Regions from separate parts of the Homo sapiens genome. Here all the other regions are linked to region 1. The links are contacts of gene promoters, found by promoter capture Hi-C in human tissues and cell types (Jung and others, 2019). All regions are on one chromosome and are shown on one strand. The core of a region is centred on a gene start or on the middle of the fragment in contact, and the rest is flanking DNA. Distances in the headings are between cores, read along the strand shown.

Region 1 (2,712 bases), core at 148-2,647:
CTTCCAAATCTCACAAACTGCGTTCCCGTTTATATCTGCAAAAGCAAGTTCATCAAGAAAATTTACTTTCTGCTTGCTGATCTATTACATTCCAAAAGACCACCCCCTGCCCCAACACGCACACACACCATTTTTCATAGCCTTATCTCACCAGAGAAGCTAGGGCCCCTATCAAAATGAGGAAATAAAGTGGCTTGCCAAAACTCAAACACTATATTTTACCGCCACATTAACGAGAATAACACATCATGATCCCGAATGCTAGTTAAGTTGTATGACTGAACAACTTTAATCACAAAACACACCAAGGCATTCAAAAAGGGCCAAGCCCAAACACAAAGTTTCAAAACAAAACCTCTCCCAAGGTTGGGGGAGTAGCTGAGCTGGGAGCAAAAAGCACTACCCAGCAGCCCCGTTCGGCCACTAAGAAAGATCTCAAACTTAACAAAAACAGCCACAACTGCAGCTCCTGTCACCCAGAAGCGTTAAGGAAAGGAGAGGAGAGCTCGAGACAGTGCCGAGAGCTGGCCTTTCTGGAGACCGCCAGGCCGAGCCCAGCTCAGATGAGGAAGTAACTGCCAGATAAAAAAGCCCCGACCAGCTCCAACTGCAGCCTCCGTGCCTCCCATAACTGCCCACATTCCCGCCCCACTTGGGGCTCTGGGAGAAAAGGAACAGGGCGCAGGTCTCCTGGGAGAGGCTGGGGACCACAGGTCCGCGTCTTCGAGAGGGCAGCGGCAACACTGGCCGAACTCTGAGGCTCCCGGGAGCTCAAGATTCGAGAGCCTGCTCCGAAGGCGTGTTGGGGGGAACGCCGAGAAAAGGGTCGCCCAGGAGGCGGGGCCTGCTGGCTGCAAGCAGCAGCTCCGGACGCCCTGGCCGCCCCCCGGGGGAAACCGGGGCGCACACCCCGACGCGGAAGCCATGCCGGCAAGCGCTCGGGGTGCGGAGGTGCCGGCGGGGGGCGCTAAGGAGACCCGGGGGCACGGAAATGGGTCACCCCCATCCCACCGCCCCCTCACAAAGGCCCCCGGGGAGGCCGCCCGCAGGCCCCGCAGCCCCGGCCTCGAGTGCCCGACTCGGCCGCCACTCACCGCTAGGTCCTGGGGCACCGCCCCGCTCATGGCCCGCACCGTGCCGGCCCGCCAGGCTCGAGTGCGCAGCGCAGGCCCCGGATCTCCGCTCGCCGCTGCCGCCGCGGGAGCCGAGGCCGAGGCTGAGGCCGCAGTGTCCGCGAACAGCAGCAGCAGCCGCTTGCCCACCGGGGAGGCCGCCGCGTCCGCCATCGCCGGGGCCGGCCTGACCCGCGCTCCCGCCCGCCGCCTCCCACCACCTCCGCCGCCAAGCGCCCGATCCGCCCGCAAGGCCTCCCTCCGCACCACCCGCGGCCGCCGTTCCCCCCCACCCCCCCCAACAGCCACCACCAACCACCGGCGCAGCGCAGCGCCCCCCGTGGCCGGGAGCGGAGCCGCAGCCTGGGCCCCGCACAGCGCCCCCCGCGCTCTGGAGCGGGGCGACAGCTCCTGGCCCCTCGCAGCGCTCCGCCCCAATCTCCCCGGGGCCTGCAGTGCCCCCTGCGGTCTGGAGGGGAATTGCAGGTCCGGCCGGGGTAGGGAAGTGGGCGGGTCCTTCAGCTTCCCCATGGCATCATCCCTGGTCTCAATCTTCCTTCAGGGAGTCGTATATATGAGAGGGCTTTAGCTTGCTCTCCTCGGATACCAAAGACATTTACGGGGTAAGGGGGTGAGGGGCAAGGTACCTAGAGAGTGGATGTTTTGAGCTATTTAGTGTCTCCAATACCCCCATTGATTTCCTATCCTGAAAATATGAGCTCCTACCTGCTGTCTTGTAGGAAATGTTCTCCCCATTGGTCCATGAGACACAATGTCTTCCTTCTCAATGGCCCATAACAGCACCATCCCATTCTATACTGCCAGCACTTCTTAGGTTCCTTTCCAATTGGCCAATGTATTACTTCCATTGGATGTATAATGCCACTCTTTCCACTGACTGAAGGCCAACGTGCCCCCCAACATCTTGGTGTTTTTCCTAAAACCGACCTAACTTCTTCCCCTTCCTAGTCTGCCAATGTTATTAAGTCTACGTGTTTCTCCATTCAACTCTTAGGGGAACTGGAAATAGACCAACAGTAAAGGGGTTCTCTTAGTAGCACTCCATCTTACCATGGAATTAGTGGGGCTGGGGGCAAAGAAAATTCTGTAACTCTTATCTGAATGCATTTAATACAGGTGTGGGAGACTGATAGCTCCTGATTAGAAAAGGAGCCTGCAGAGAAAGTGAGATGCTGAGATTTTTGGCTAGATTGTTACCCACAATAAGCAACAGGAAATTGCCTCAATCATTTAAAGCTGGCAATATCAGGGACTAGCACATTCCATGGTCTCATGGATGCAGAGACTGAGTATACACAAAATGGATACAAAAGATAAAGGGTATAGTAATAACCCATGACTGTTGTTCTAAAAGTGACTTTTTGATTTTCCCTACAGACAGGAAATAGTGGTAGCTGGTTCTTTCTCCAAGGCTTCTGTGCCTACCCCAGCTATCTCCTGTCCATAACCTTGTCTACACCCTTGACCTACTTTTCTTGTAACAAAGGCTTGGGGAGAGGGGTAACCAACTATTGACTTTATACTTTTACTAAAGTATAAAACATATAGGAAAATCATTCTAGAACCAACCCTGTGGAGC
Region 2 (2,712 bases), core at 121-2,620, 210 kb after region 1:
TAGATTTTATGAACTTGAAATGGAAAATTATTTTGATGGAGACAAGGAAGAGGATAAAAAAATTTTTTTTTAAAGAAAAAATTAGGCCAGGCGCAGTGGCTCACACCTGTAATCTCAGCACTTTGGGAGGCAGAGGCAGGAGGATTGCTTGAGCTCAGGATTTTGAGACTAGCCTGGGCAATATAGTGAAACCTCATCTTTACAAAAAATAAACAAAATTTATTGGGTGTGGGGGCATGCACCTGTAGTCCTAGCTACACAGGAGGCCAAGGCAGGAGGACTGCTTGAACTTGGGAGGTGAAGGTTACAGTGAGCTATGATCATGTCACTACACAGCCTGGGTGACAGAGCAAGACCCTGTCTCAGAAAACAAAACAAGAAATAAAAGAGAAGAAAAAAATTATTTTGAAGTTTGTGATCTTTGTTTCTTTTTCACATCTCTTAGGGGATTGTTTATGTCAAGCTTGTCTAATCCCTAGCCTGCAGCCCAGGACAGCTTTGAATGTGGCCAAACACAAATTCTTAAAACATTATGAGATTTATGCACTGACCCTTTTTTTTTCCCTTTTTTTTTTCTTTTTTTTTTTTTTTTTCCAGCTCATCAGCTATTGTTAGTGTATTTTATGTGTGGTCCAAGACAATTCTTCTTCTTCCTCCAGTGTGGCCCAGGGAAGCCAAAAGATTGGACACCCCTGGTTTATGCAATTGTCTCATCTTTGTATAGATAATTATAGGACTAAATAACACATTTTCAAATCTTAATGGGGGCTGTTTTTTTTTAACAGGAAACCAAAAAAATATTAATTTTTTTTTTTGAGATAGGATCTCACTCTGTTGCCCAAGTTAGAGTGCAATGGCATGATCTTGGCTCACTTCAGCCTCCGCCTCCTGGGCTCAGGTGATCCTCTCACCTCAGCCTCATGAATAGCTGGGAACACAGATGTGCACCACCACAACCAGCTGATTTTTTTGTATTTTTGTTAGAGACAGGGTTTCATCACATTGACCAGACTGGTCTCAAACTCCTGGACTCAAGCGATCCCCTGCCTTGGCCTCCCAAAGTCCTGGGATTATAGGCATGAACTACTGCATCTGGCATGAAGTGAATTACTTTTTAAAGCAGAAAAACAAAGTTGTTTTTATCTGTGACTCCTGGCCTCAAGTGATTCTCCTGCCTCAGCCTTTCAAAGTGCTGAGATTATAGGCATGAGCCACTACGTCCAGCAAAGTTATTTTTGTTATGGTAATAAATAAATTGTTCTTTTTCCAGCCTGTGTCAGATCCATCTGTTGAGAGAATATAGTATGAACTGTTTTTTTTTTCTTCAGTATATCCCAGATCCACCCAGTTGTCTGTGGAAAGGTAAAACTAATAATTATTCTAGTGTTTTTTTGTTTAAGATATACAGCTGAACCATGCATATATTTATATATGAATATATATATATATATATTTTTTGAAGAGCAGATTTCTTTTTTTTCTCATAGAGACAGGGTCTTGCTTTGTTGCCCAAGCTGGGTCTTGAACTCCTGGCTTCAAGCAATCCCACCTCAGCCTCCCAAAGTACTGGGATTATAAGCCTGAGCCACTGTGCCCAGCCTAGATTTCAATTTTTGGTACACAAATAGGATACAGTTTAAAATGTAGATTGGTGAGGAATGCCTTCATTTGCTTTTCTTTAACTCCTTAAGTATGAGCAATAGAGTGCAGAGATGACATACTGTGACTGTACAAACAGCAGGAAATCTGCAATCTGAGACTTTTTTTTTTTTTTTTTTTTTTTGAGACGGAGTTTCGCTCGGTCGCCCAGGCTGCAGTGCAGTGGCGTGATCTCGGCTCACTGCAAGCTCTGCCTCCTAGGTTCACACCATTCTCCTGCCTCAGCCTCCCAAGTAGCTGGGACTACAGGCACCCGCCACCACGCCCAGCTAATTTTTTGTGTATTTTTAGTAGAAACGGGGTTTCACCGTGTTAGCCAGGATGGTCTCAATCTCCTGACCTTGTGATCCGCCTGCCTCGGCCTCCCAAAGTGCTGGGATTACAGGCGTGAGCCACCACACCGGGCCCAATCTGAGACATCTTATCTCATGACAGTTCATAGTCTTGGATGGTAAATTCCACATTCTTACCTTACAATTTAGATTAAATATGAAATCTTTATTAGAAAGCAGTAGATATCCAGCCTGGGCAACGTAGTGGGACCTTGTCTCTACAACAAATACAGAAATTAGCTGCAGGGCGTGGTGGCATGTGCCTGGAGTCCCAGCTACTTGGGAGGCTGAGGCAGGAGGATCGCTTGAGCCCAGCAGGTTGAGGCTGCAGTAAGCCACGATCACACTACTGCACTCCAGCCTGGGCAACAGAGCAAGACCCTGTCTCAAAAAAAAAAAAAATTGGCTGGGCATGGTGGTTCATGCCTGTAATCCCAGCACTTTGGGAGGCTGAGGCGGGTGGATCACTTAAGGCCAGGAGTTTGAGACCAGCCTGGCCAACATGGCAAAACCCCGTCTCTATGGAAAATACAAAAATTAGTTGGGTGTGGTGGTATGCAACTTTAGTCCCAGCTACTTGGGAGGCTGAGGCAGGAGAATCGCTGGAACCCGGGAGGCAGAGGTTGCAGTGAGCTGAGATCATGCCACTGCACTCCAGCCTGGGCAACAGAGCAAGACTCTGTCTCAGAAAAATAAAATTAAAAAATTAAAAGAGAAAACA
Region 3 (2,712 bases), core at 110-2,609, 140 kb before region 1:
TCAAGGATGTTTTTCAATTCCAGCAGGGACACAGCTCCTTCCCGACATTGTAGACTACGGGGTGACATGTAGATGTGTCATTCTGGCCTCCCCCGGAATGGGGACATGGAGCTGGCAGCACAAAAGGATGGGTTCGTGGAGGGCAGCAAAAGGCTTAAGGGAGATGTCGATTGGATCTCTGAGGAACAGGTTCCTTCTGCCCTGTGTTCTGATACTCTGCCACCCAGAGAAACCAGTTCTGAGGCCCAGAATATTTCGGGAGACTCTTGGGATCTCATAGTGAAAGATAAACACATATCTTCGCTAGAACCAGGCCCCTGACAAATAGCATGATGCCCAGGGCTTAATTCCATAGAATAAGCTGATAAATCATAAAGCCTCCAAAATCCAGCGATTTCCTTTCTCTTCGATTCCTCTGTGGAATAAATGAATATTTATTAGCCATCTCCCGTGTCCCAGCTTCCCATACATCATTTCAACTAATTCTCTGCACAGTTCCTATGAGGGACGTATTACAACATTCATTTTGCAAATAGGGAAACTAGAATTTGGGGAAAGATCTTAAGCACCTTGACCAAAAATCACACGGCCGTGGAGTGGCAGCACCAGGGCTGGGACCCCATTCTTCAGAGCCCAACCCCGTACCTTTTCCACTAGTTCTGTGTTCCTTTATATTTGCTTCTGTGCTACAGGTAAAGATAGTCTTCCCCGCAGGCTCCAAGGCACTGCCTTTCTAGGGAGTCCTCAGCAAGGAAAGGTGGCATCAGCATCTGCCTCTGGGCCCATGTGTTCCTGTGTGGCCCTGCCTGGCACTGCAGCAGCCCCAGCAGCCCCAATCCAGAGGCTTCTCCCTGCCAGCTGCCTTGTCTCCGTCATGGAGTTTCCCCGGCAGAGGGCAAGCGGAGGGAAAGTGGTTCCCAGCTGCCAGCTTCATCTAGGCAAAATCACTTTTGAGCCAGCCCTGGCTTCCCTCAGTCCCTCCAGAGGAGCACATTCAGCTCCCCCGCAAAAAGGAGGCGGGGAGAGACACAGAAAAGAAGGGAACTTCCATGTCTTTCTCTCCCTGGCTGGGAAGCACTTGGCTTTGGGCTGCCACTCATCTTGTAGGTGGGGAAGATTAATACTGATCCTCTTGAGTTACAGAAGTCTCTAAAATGAACCCTTGGGCAGAGCTTTGTCCAAGAGAGATGCTCGTGGAAAGCCCTGGGTCTGAGTGCGGTGGGAGGGGAGACGCAGGTCTCAGCAAGGACAGAGACCCCTGGATCTCCTCCTGCTCTCCCACGTGCTCTCTTCTGAGTGCATTCTTCTGTCCAAAAAGATAAGAAGGGTCATTTCCTGGCAAATGGAACAGGGTCAGGGAGAAAGCAAGAAGAGGAGGGAACTATCGGGTTTTGACCTTGAGCAAAACAGGGAAGGTGTTGATAGTGTTAATAGTTAACATTTACCCACAGTGTGTCAACCACTCTTCATTTATTATCTCATTTAATCCCCCCTCAGGTAATCCTACTGTTATCTCTGTTTTAGAGATAAGGAAATTGAGGCATATGGACTCCTCAGTAACAACTCCCAATTTATGAGAGATTTGGCCAGCTTGGGCAACATGGCGAGACCCCCTCGCTACCAAAAATACAAAAATTAGCCAGGCGTGGTAGTGCCTGCCTATAGTCCCAGCTACTCAGGAGGCTGAAGTAGGGGAGGATTGCTTGAGCCTGGGAGGTCGAGGCTTCGGTGAGCCGAGATTGCGCCACTGCACTCCAGCCTGGGTGACAGAGTGAGACTCTATCTCTTAAAAAAAGAGAGCCAGCCCAGCACTCTGTAGACATTGCCTCATTTAACCCGCATAAACCAATGAGATGAAACCATTATGGCCATTTTATTTTGCTTTTTTTTAAAACTTTAATTATTTTAAATTTCTTATTTTTTTTAACACCTACTAGAATGAGAATTACTCCCATTTTCTACAGGTGAAAACTGAGGTTCAGAGAAGTAGGGAACTTGCCTGTGATCATGAAGTATGTAAATGGCAGACCAAGGGCTCAGAATTTGGGTCTGTGTGACTCCAGAGCACGTGTGCTTGTCCTTTTTGCCCTGCTGTCTCCTGACTCACCAAGGCTTCTTCACCGCCCCTAGGGCTCCTGCTCAGATAGGCTGAGACCACAAAAATCTGCCCACACCTACATTTCCCTAGTGCTCCACACACAGATTAAAACTTGGCTGCTGTTCACTTTGTTTGTTCACACTTGCCACCAGAGCATGTATGGGGCGTGGACAGATAGGCATGGGTGATACGGGGCCCTGTGTCTTGGGACTCTGGCTGTCAACTGGACTCTCTCTCCCAACCCGGACTCCAGAAGCAGGAGACTTGAGAGGTCTCCACTACCCTTCCCAAGCCTTGAAATTTTCCTAAGAGACCAAGATGTCTCCATTGAACAGCCTCGGGAGATCTCCTGAAGACCCAAGGAGGTGCTTCTTGGAGAAGAGGCTGGAGAGCCCAGCAGTTTTTTGTTTGTTTGTTTGTTTGTTTGAGACCACGTCTTGCTCTGTTGCCCAGGCTGGAGTGCAGTGGTACCATCTTCACTCACTGCAACCTCCGCCTCCCAGGTTCAAGTGATTTTTCTGCCTTAGCCTCCTGAGTAGCTGGGAATACAGGCACGTGCCACCACGCCAGGCTGGAGTGCAGTGGTGTGATCTCGGCTCACTGCAATCTCTGTC

What was found. Contacts are between HindIII fragments. The study calls those that stand out against the background at their distance.
Region 2: a contact is called between a fragment that was not itself captured here and the fragment with the promoter of KDM3B in region 1, in 1 of the 25 tissues and cell types used here (hippocampus).
Region 3: a contact is called between a fragment that was not itself captured here and the fragment with the promoter of KDM3B in region 1, in 1 of the 25 tissues and cell types used here (adrenal gland).

Annotation. Positions count from the first base shown.
Region 1 is chr5:138,351,370-138,354,081 of GRCh38, reverse strand. KDM3B (lysine demethylase 3B) reads right to left here and starts at 1,397. Exons shown (of 24, transcript NM_016604.4): 1 at 1,095-1,397. The coding sequence starts at 1,286. RefSeq lists an enhancer at 458-557 and silencers at 808-1,277, 1,358-1,597, 1,618-1,697. The HindIII fragment of the contact is 4,490 bases long and covers 1-2,712 here.
Region 2 is chr5:138,146,041-138,148,752 of GRCh38, reverse strand. The region is part of intron 23 of BRD8 (bromodomain containing 8); the gene reads left to right. Among named protein-coding and RNA genes, the nearest start is that of NME5, 8.0 kb to the right of the region's middle. The HindIII fragment of the contact is 5,043 bases long and covers 1-2,712 here.
Region 3 is chr5:138,488,124-138,490,835 of GRCh38, reverse strand. No RefSeq gene overlaps it. Among named protein-coding and RNA genes, the nearest start is that of EGR1, 24 kb to the right of the region's middle. The HindIII fragment of the contact is 5,676 bases long and covers 1-2,712 here.